Regions from separate parts of the Homo sapiens genome. Here regions 1 and 2 are each linked to region 3. The links are contacts of gene promoters, found by promoter capture Hi-C in human tissues and cell types (Jung and others, 2019). All regions are on one chromosome and are shown on one strand. Each heading gives the region's core, a stretch centred on a gene start or on the middle of the fragment in contact. The rest is flanking DNA. Distances are from core to core; before and after follow the strand shown.

The links. The method cuts DNA at HindIII sites, captures the fragments that hold promoters and counts their contacts. A contact is called where the count stands out against the background at its distance.
Region 1: a fragment that was not itself captured here is called in contact with the fragment with the promoter of AADACL3 in region 3 in 1 of the 25 tissues and cell types used here (thymus).
Region 2: a contact is called between a fragment that was not itself captured here and the fragment with the promoter of AADACL3 in region 3, in 1 of the 25 tissues and cell types used here (thymus).

Annotation. Positions count from the first base shown.
Region 1 is chr1:12,660,622-12,663,333 of GRCh38, forward strand. It overlaps AADACL4 (arylacetamide deacetylase like 4), which reads left to right. Exons shown (of 4, transcript NM_001013630.2): 3 at 1,170-1,233. Among named protein-coding and RNA genes, the nearest start is that of AADACL4, 18 kb to the left of the region's middle. The HindIII fragment of the contact is 4,685 bases long and covers 1-2,712 here.
Region 2 is chr1:12,755,815-12,758,669 of GRCh38, forward strand. All of the region lies in intron 2 of CFAP107 (cilia and flagella associated protein 107), which reads left to right. Among named protein-coding and RNA genes, the nearest start is that of CFAP107, 11 kb to the left of the region's middle. The HindIII fragment of the contact is 5,337 bases long and covers 1-2,855 here.
Region 3 is chr1:12,714,807-12,717,506 of GRCh38, forward strand. It overlaps AADACL3 (arylacetamide deacetylase like 3), which reads left to right and starts at 1,304. Exons shown (of 4, transcript NM_001103170.3): 1 at 1,304-1,538. The coding sequence starts at 1,371. RefSeq lists an enhancer at 779-1,978. The HindIII fragment of the contact is 8,121 bases long and covers 1-2,700 here.

The DNA.
Region 1 (2,712 bases), core at 7-2,506, 54 kb before region 3:
GGCTAAGTGGGCAGGACCCAGGCATCAGCATTTTTTTTTTGAGATGGAGTCTTGCTCTGTCACCCAGGCTGGAGTGCAGTGGCATGATCTCGGCTCACTGCAACCTCCGCCTCCCGGGTTCAAGCAATTCTTCTGCCTCAGCCTCCTGAGTAGCTGGGACTACAGGCATGTGCCACCATGCCCGGCTAATTTTTGTATTTTTAGTAGAGACGGGGTTTCACCATACTGGCCAGGTTGGTCTCAAACTCCTGACCTCGTGATCCACCCACCTCGGCCTCCCAAAGTGCTGGGATTACAGGCATGAACCAGGGCATCAGTATTTTTAAACAGCTCATCAGATGACTGCAATGTGCAGCCAGGGCTGAGACCTACTAGTATGGAAACTTCAACTTAGGGGCTGACTGCTCCGACTCAATTTAGACCCCTCTGTGCCTCTGGCTCCATTCAGAACCATTGTCATCTCCCTCAAAGAGCATTAATGAGGCATGCACCCACTTCAGCAACCTCCTCCAAACCCTGGAATTACCTGGTGTGATTTAGAAAATCCTGATGCCTGAGCTTCCATGCTAGAGATTCTGATTTAATTGGTTTGAGGTTTAGCCTGGGCCTGAGGACTTGTAAAAACTCCCTGGTACCTCTATGTATGGCTGAAGTTGAGAATGACTGCATTAGAAGTGTATTTGGCAGTGATTCTGTGTCTGCCACTGTGCTAGTATGTTCTACGTACTCATATTGACGGACCTGCCTCTGAGAACTTCATATGCACCACTCTACTCATAGAAACATCCCGTCCAACCCTTGTTTATTTCTTGATCAATATAAATTTATAGTTATTATTAACATCCTAGGGCAGGCATGCCTAACTTCCCTTGGTTTTTTTCCATTTCAGATCACTAAGATTTCCAGGTTCCTGGTTTCCTCCACTGTAAAATAAATGTTGCAGAAAGTGAGCCCCAAGGTGAATTTGAGTCCCAAAATTCAGGAGGCTGGGGACAGATGTATGATTTGGCCTGGTTTTTTGGCTCTGTCCAGGCAGAGGAGGCAAGGATAGAAACAGAGAGGATGCCACACCCCACACCAAGACTGTCAGCTGGCTCTTCCTGGGGGCTGTGGTGAGATGGTTTGGGTCCTACTCATGCGCTGCTGCTCTGAGTGTTTTTGTCTTGCAGATTGTTACCATGGCCTGTGCAATTATCTGGCCCGGGAGACTGAATCTGTACTTCTGATGATTGGGTGAGTTTCTGGAGACAGCTGGTAGGTTCCACAGGGGTGAGAGGAGATAGGGTAAGTTCATGGGTGATTTGTAGATCAGAGAGGCCCTAACTCCCAAGAGGCAACTCTTGGACATGCATCCACAGAGACAGGCGCAGCAGTGCTCGAAAGAGCAAAAACCTGAAAGCAACCCACATGTCCATGAACGGGGGCGTGCATGAATAAACCTCAGCACAGCAACTGTTAGATTACATAGCCAAGAAGATATTATGGATTTTTCCACAGCCATTTAAATAAATGAACTAGAAAGGTGTACCATGTTGCAAATGAATCTTAGTAGTATAAAACTAAGTGAAAAATGTTCAAAAAATTACATAAAGCCTGATACTCATTTTGCAAAGGTAAAAACGTTAAAACCAAAAGAATACTTTCGAGGAAAACACATAGACGTAACAAGACAATGTAACATAGAAAGAAAAAAATGATAGATACAGGATTCAGGGTAACCATTCATTAAGTTGGAGGAGAAGCAAAATGGCATGATGGTGGGGTTGGTGAAGGTGATGCGCAAGATTCTGGCTGTTGTTTGGGGTGATGGTTCTGCAGGTGCTTATTGCATTGTTAAAAACTAACTAAGCTTCTGGTCCTACAGGAACTAGTGTTGAGAGTGTCTTAAGATACAACCCTGGTCCTATAAAAACAAAAGGGAGATGGAGGCATCTTTAGAGTGGATGGAGGGGGCAGTAGGGGCTACTCACTAGGATTCTGGTTCTTGGCTCAAGAGATCTCACATCACTGGGAAAGAGTTTAGAGAAGGCCAGCGAGAGAAATTAAAATCTGCCTTTTTAGATTCTACCTCTACAATGGACCTCCTCAAACCTTAGCTGCCCCTAGGCTTTGGTAGACAGAATAGCTGTGTGACTTAAACAAAGTCACTTAACATCTCTGGTCCTCTCTGATGAGATTGAGGAAGCCAGCACTTTCTAGTATTCATCAACATACCTCCCAGGTGGCTTACCATTGTGTCTGAAATTCCACCATTACAGTCTATGTCACCAAAGCCCTTTGTGATAATAAAAACATCCCTTGAACAGGTAGCACATAAAGGTATCAATAAGCACCTGCATTAATACCTTGTAGGAAATTGCTTAGGATGCCATTATCCCAGATACTTAGACCTGGTGCACGGGCCAGGGCAGTTTTGATAGAGTGGCTCATGGAGCTGCATGCACAGATAAGGGCTTCCAGGAGGCTGCAGGGAGACAGTAGCTGAGAGGAGACTCCCTGAGAGACACTGAAGGAAGGGAGATGTCTAAGGCCTGGATGGGACTCCCTACCCGAACTCTTGGAGAAGATGGGTCTTTTGACCTTTGGTTCTGCGAAGCCTTCACCTCTGGGTGAGTTTCTTAGTTTGGGCTGCTGTAACAAATTACCATAGATGGGGCAGCTTAAACAACACTTTGATTTCTCAGAGTTTTGGAGGCTAGAAGTCCAGGATCA
Region 2 (2,855 bases), core at 311-2,810, 41 kb after region 3:
TAAGAGGGAGTGGCAACTGGGACACTCAGGCCTGGACCCCACCCAAAGCTCAGGGGACACCAGCCAGCTTCTTATAGGCTTAGTACCGTCTTGGGGGAAATCAGGAGTAGTCTCATTAATACCCTCCCAGCCCGGGGGCTGCAGATAGCACTAACCAATAATTACCTGTGTGGGCTGATGATCTGTTTAATGTCAAACTGGTAGCATTCCCTCCAACCTATATCCCAGCACCTGGATCACACTCTTCCAACAGAATATAGGCAAAGAATGCAAGAAATAGCAACCAAAGGTAAATGATGCATATAGTCAGGAATCACATAAGGCACTGCAAAAGCAGCTGGCAGTGATGTATTTGGACAAACAGTGTTGTGTATTATCTGTGCTCCAGCTTCCTGTTCTTTCGCATGAAAAGTCAAGCACCATCCACACACCGTATTGACTGGGCACTTGTCTAGGAATCATGGTGTTCCAGGTGTTGGAAGCAGAGAGCAGGGCATTGCAACCTCAGAACATGCCCTCCACACCCAAGGAGGGGCATTTGAGACTATTATTATCTTTAGCAATCCCACTAGTGAGTATGTAGGAGACAATTATTAACTTGGTGTGCCAGAGGCTGAGATCCTGGCCCTTCCAGGAACAGCAGGGAAAGCCGTCTCCTGCAATAACCCCTGTGGGTAGCTCCCAGCAGGCACAGCCTGGGGAGAGCAAGCTTGTAGGTGCTCACCCACTGGGTGTGCAGCTGTGCTCTGTCCCCACCACACTCTGGGAGTTCCCTTGAGTTGTTTCTTTTGCCAGCCTGCTGCTCTTATAAGCGATTTCTGTCTCCCCACTCCCACCCCACCTGACCCTACTATACCTGCTTCAACTCAGGGTGGCAGCAGACAGACATGGATTAAGGTAGTGGACATCTTTTGGAATTGGGGCATTTTAGTGCTTGGAGGGACCCAAGAGATTCATTCAGCTCAGCGGCCCGAGGTGTGAAGTGGCTTTTTCAAAGCTGTGTGGCTTGTTGTTAGGGATGAAGCAAGTTGCTGCTCTGCAAATCAGGCAAAGAGTGTCCTCAGATTCCATTCCTCATCTGCCAGAGTCGCCTATTTGCATTCTGCATTTAGGGATCCATGTCAGGATAAGCAGCAACAGATTTTCAGCTCTGTGCTGGCAACCCCAGATGACTCCCTCATCCTCAGACCACACTGACATCTCCAAGCAAGCTGATGCTCTGGGGCTGCTGAGCTTCACCAGCAGTGCGCATTAAAGACACAAATGAATTTTAACATAAACAAGTCAAAGTTAGAACCCAGGATCTGGGGCTCTCAGCCTCTAACCATCCATGTATGTGAGGTATTGACCCTAGTTTTCAGTGCATTGCAGAACATTTAGATAGCCTTTGGACCCATTACAAGCTCTGACTAAGAGTTTAACATACAGTCTGGTTAAAATTAAGAACTCCACCCACCACCCCCCCGCATTGTCATCTCCAACAGAACAGACGATGGAATATTCATTTCTTTTTTTCTTTTCTTTTCTTTTCTCTTTTCTTTTCTTTCTTTTTCTTTTTTTTCCTTTTTTTCTTTTCTTTTTTTTTGAGATAGAGTCTCTCTCTGTCCCCCAGGCTAGAGTGCAGTGGTGTGATGTTGGCTCACTGAAACCTCAGCCTCCTGGGTTGGAACAATTCTCCTTGCCTCAGCCTTCCAAGTAGCTGGGATTACAGGTGTGTGCCAACACAGCTGGCTAATTTTTTTTGTATTTTTAGTAGAGATAGGGTTTTGCCATGTTGGTCAGGCTAGTCCTGAACTCCTGGTCTCAAGTAATCTGCCCACCTTGGCCTCTCAAACTGCTGGGATTACAGGCGTGAGCCACGGCACCTGGCCCTGAATATTTATTTTTAAGGTTTCTGTTCAAATTGCCTGCTTGTGGGATGGGGCCCTGAACATAACCCTGCTTCCACACAGCTGCTTCAACTCTGTCAGCTCTTCTGTTTGCTTCATGTTGCCCTCCTTCTCCTAGGACAGCTTCCTCCTCCATCTCCCACTCCCACTTTGCTCTTCCTTGTTAGGCAAAAATGACTCCAAAGCCCGTATCCCCAACCGCCTCCTTTATCTAATTCTCACATACCAAGCCAATATTTCCTCTGCCTTAAATCACCCCAGGGCCAAGTAGTGGACACTAGAGACCTCCCCTAGGGCCCAGAGCCCACAAAAACTATTCACACTATCCAGTCCTAAACTTGTCCACCGTGCCTCGCCCAATGGTTCCCATGGAAACCACAGTAAAGGCTCTGGGCCCTGCCCCTCCACCTTGTTCCTTCTGCCTCCCGACCAGAGACCAATGCTGGTTCTTCCTGATGTGGCCCTGCAGGGCATGGCGTGCCCTTCCTCTTGAGAACTGTAAGTAACAAGCTCTCCTTTCAAAGGTAGCTGTCTCTGTGGCTGTCACTTTCCCAAACCCTAATAAGGAAAAATCCCAGGCATACAGTAAAGACACACCCCAAATCAAGAGAAACTGCAAGAAAATTCCTCCTGGCCTCTCTACCTCCCATGCCACGAGGCTGCTTCTGCAATTCCCTTTGTTGATGGGAAACCCTCCAAGTCACTTTGGCATTAGAAATACACTATGGGGTACCTGGTGATGTGGATCTTGGGAATCCTGCTTAATGTCTGTGCCCACCCCCCTTGTCTTCCTCTGGCATTGTGATCTGACTTATTTATGGGGCCACCACTTGAAATATTGGGTGCAGCCGGCATTTCCAGACCATAGCAGACACAGGCCTCCCTGTCTGCTCCAGACAAGAGGGCAAGCATGGAAATCAACATTATGCCCCCTTGTAAGTCAGTGCAGATCCCCAGGATTCCCTT
Region 3 (2,700 bases), core at 54-2,553:
CATAACGTGCTCATGATCAGCATGCTGGCATTTGGCAGAGCCAGGATTCAAATTCAAGTGTTGCAAATGCAGGGTTTCTCAACCACCATACTATCGGCTTGCTGGACTGCATAAGTCTTTGTGCATTGCAGGATGTTTGGCAATATCCCTGGCCTCTTGTCTATGACACTCTAGAACCAGCCCTCTGGCCCTTCCTGAGTGGGGACAACAAAAATGTTTCTGATATTCCCATATCTTCTGGGAGGTAAAATCTCTCCTGTCTGAGAACCACTGCTCTCTCACTCAAGCTGGGAGGCGGGAGACACAGCAGATATTACTATTGTTACTGCAGATGTGGGACTTGGTTGTTAGGGAAGATTTCCAATGGTGACATCAACCTCTGACCTGACCTGGAAAGGCAAGCAAGCACAGTTTCCCAGATTTGCAAGAAAGAGGAAAGCAAGCACAGTTTCCCAGATTTGCAAGAAAGAGGACAAAGCCTGTCTATTCATTCTCTCACTCCATAGGCATTTGCTGAGCACCTACAAAGTACCAAGCCCCAATCCAGCCTCTGGTGATAAAATGGCACAAAAAGAAAATTCCTGTCCTCCCAGACAATAAACAGACAAGTGAGGCAGGTGATGATAAAGGTCACAGGGAAAAACCAAGCAGTGGGGGGGTGAGGAAGGTGGGGGATGGGGAAGATGGGGGATGGGGAAGGTGGAGGATGAGGAAGGTGGGGGATGTGGAAGGTGGGGGGGTGGAAAGGGTGGGGGATGGGGAAGGTGGGGCTGGGGAAGGTGGGCGTAGGCATGCTGGCGGGAGTTAAATTTTAAATAAGATTGCCAGGGATGGCCTCACTGAGAAGGCAACATTTGAGCAGAGACCAGCAAGAGGGGAGGCATGGAGTCTAGCCGAGGTCTAGGGGAAGAATGGTGTACAGAGAATGGCTTGCCGTACAACAGCTCTGGGACATCCTCCACAGGCTGATGGATGGATGATAAGCTGGAGTTGAATCACAGAGTGGGGGGATGAGGTCCGAGGGCCGGTGGGAGGAATCGTGTTTATGATGTCCATTGTGACTTGGTGGCTTATCCAAGACTATTTCTAGTTAGCAGTGCCAGATTGTAAGCTGGGACTCTAGAACTTTCTTTTGTGGCTGGATCCGGCTGGATGGGCCACTTTCTTCTCTGCATGGGCCCTGTCCTAGAACCACATCCTCACCTGAGCCTGTGACTCACCTGGGCTGGGCCAGTGTTTGTGGGACCCAGGGAGGTGGGGGAGGACAGGTGTGACTTATAAGTGGAGGAGGTCTGCTGGCTCTGAACCATGTCCTAAATGGTTTACACTGCGCACAGCTTCCTCTCAGCCCGCTCTGAGCTGGAAGCAGCATGTGGGACCTGGCCCTGATCTTCCTCGCAGCAGCCTGCGTGTTCTCACTAGGGGTCACTCTGTGGGTCATTTGCAGCCATTTTTTCACTGTGCACATCCCTGCAGCGGTTGGCCACCCTGTGAAACTGAGAGTCCTCCATTGCATCTTCCAGCTGCTGTTGACTTGGGTGAGTTTTGTGCTTTATGTGTCCCCTCCAGCTGACCATTAAGGAAGGCGGCAGGAAAAATCACACACCGGAAGCTTCTAGCTGAATGAACACCGGTATCATGGGGCCTGCAGTGACAGCTGATCAGACCTTCTGAAATGTGCATAATCCCTATTAGGTGGTTCTCAGCCTCTTTGGGTGTTTCTGAAGCTGGCCCTGGCTAATATTCACAAAATTCAAAGAATGATCTGCTTTCTCAGTTAACAGAAAGAAAAAACCAGTCTGGTTCTATTCACCTGAGTGTCTCCCGCTGACTTTCTTTTTGTTGTTGTTGGTTTGTTTTATTTTTAAAATTGAGGTAAAATATGCATATAAAATTTACCATCTTTCGCATTTTTAAGTGTACCTTTCACGTGTCCATAAATGTGTCCATATTATTCACAGCACTCACCACTCTCAGAAGTTGTGAAGATATGAATGAATTTTCCTGAGTCTCTGGGCCCCCACTGCTATCTACCTGTTAGCTAGAGCCAGCAAGCCACAAAGTAAAAGGGTAGCGGATGAGTAGATTAGTGCCGGTGAGCAAAATTACAGAATGTGACTTTAAAAATATGTTGTTGCTTTTGAGAGCTAGAAAGCTGCCTAGGGAATATAGTTTGGTTCTGCTTCTGGTGTAATTTGTTAAAATACCTGTAAATGGAACTGTGTAGGTGTTGCCAATACGGATTTCTTGTACTTTTTCTTGTGCCTTGACAGAAACTGAATATACAAAATATTTTTTGTAAGTTTCTTACATAACGAAAAGCAATTGCCAGTGCCTCTTCTCAAGAGACACCCTAGGTGTGTCTTCTATGCTATTCAAAATAATTTCTATGCTATTCAAAAGAATGTAGCTATTACCTAAAAGAGAAGATCCCGGGAACTCTAGGCTTCTGATCTCCAGTCAGCTTTTATAAGATGCAGTGATTGGGTCCTAGGTTTTCCTACCCTTGATGCTCAGATTCTGTAGTCCAGGCTCCCAAATACAGTGACTCGATTTCCTCTTTTGCAAAGTAGGGAAAATTGCTCCTACTTCACAGGGTTTTGTGGAGACTCCATGAATAACCCTCTCCAGAAGGCTTATTATAATGCCTGACACAGAGGGAGCCCTCCTTAAATAGTAGCCATTGTTACTCTTTGTTGA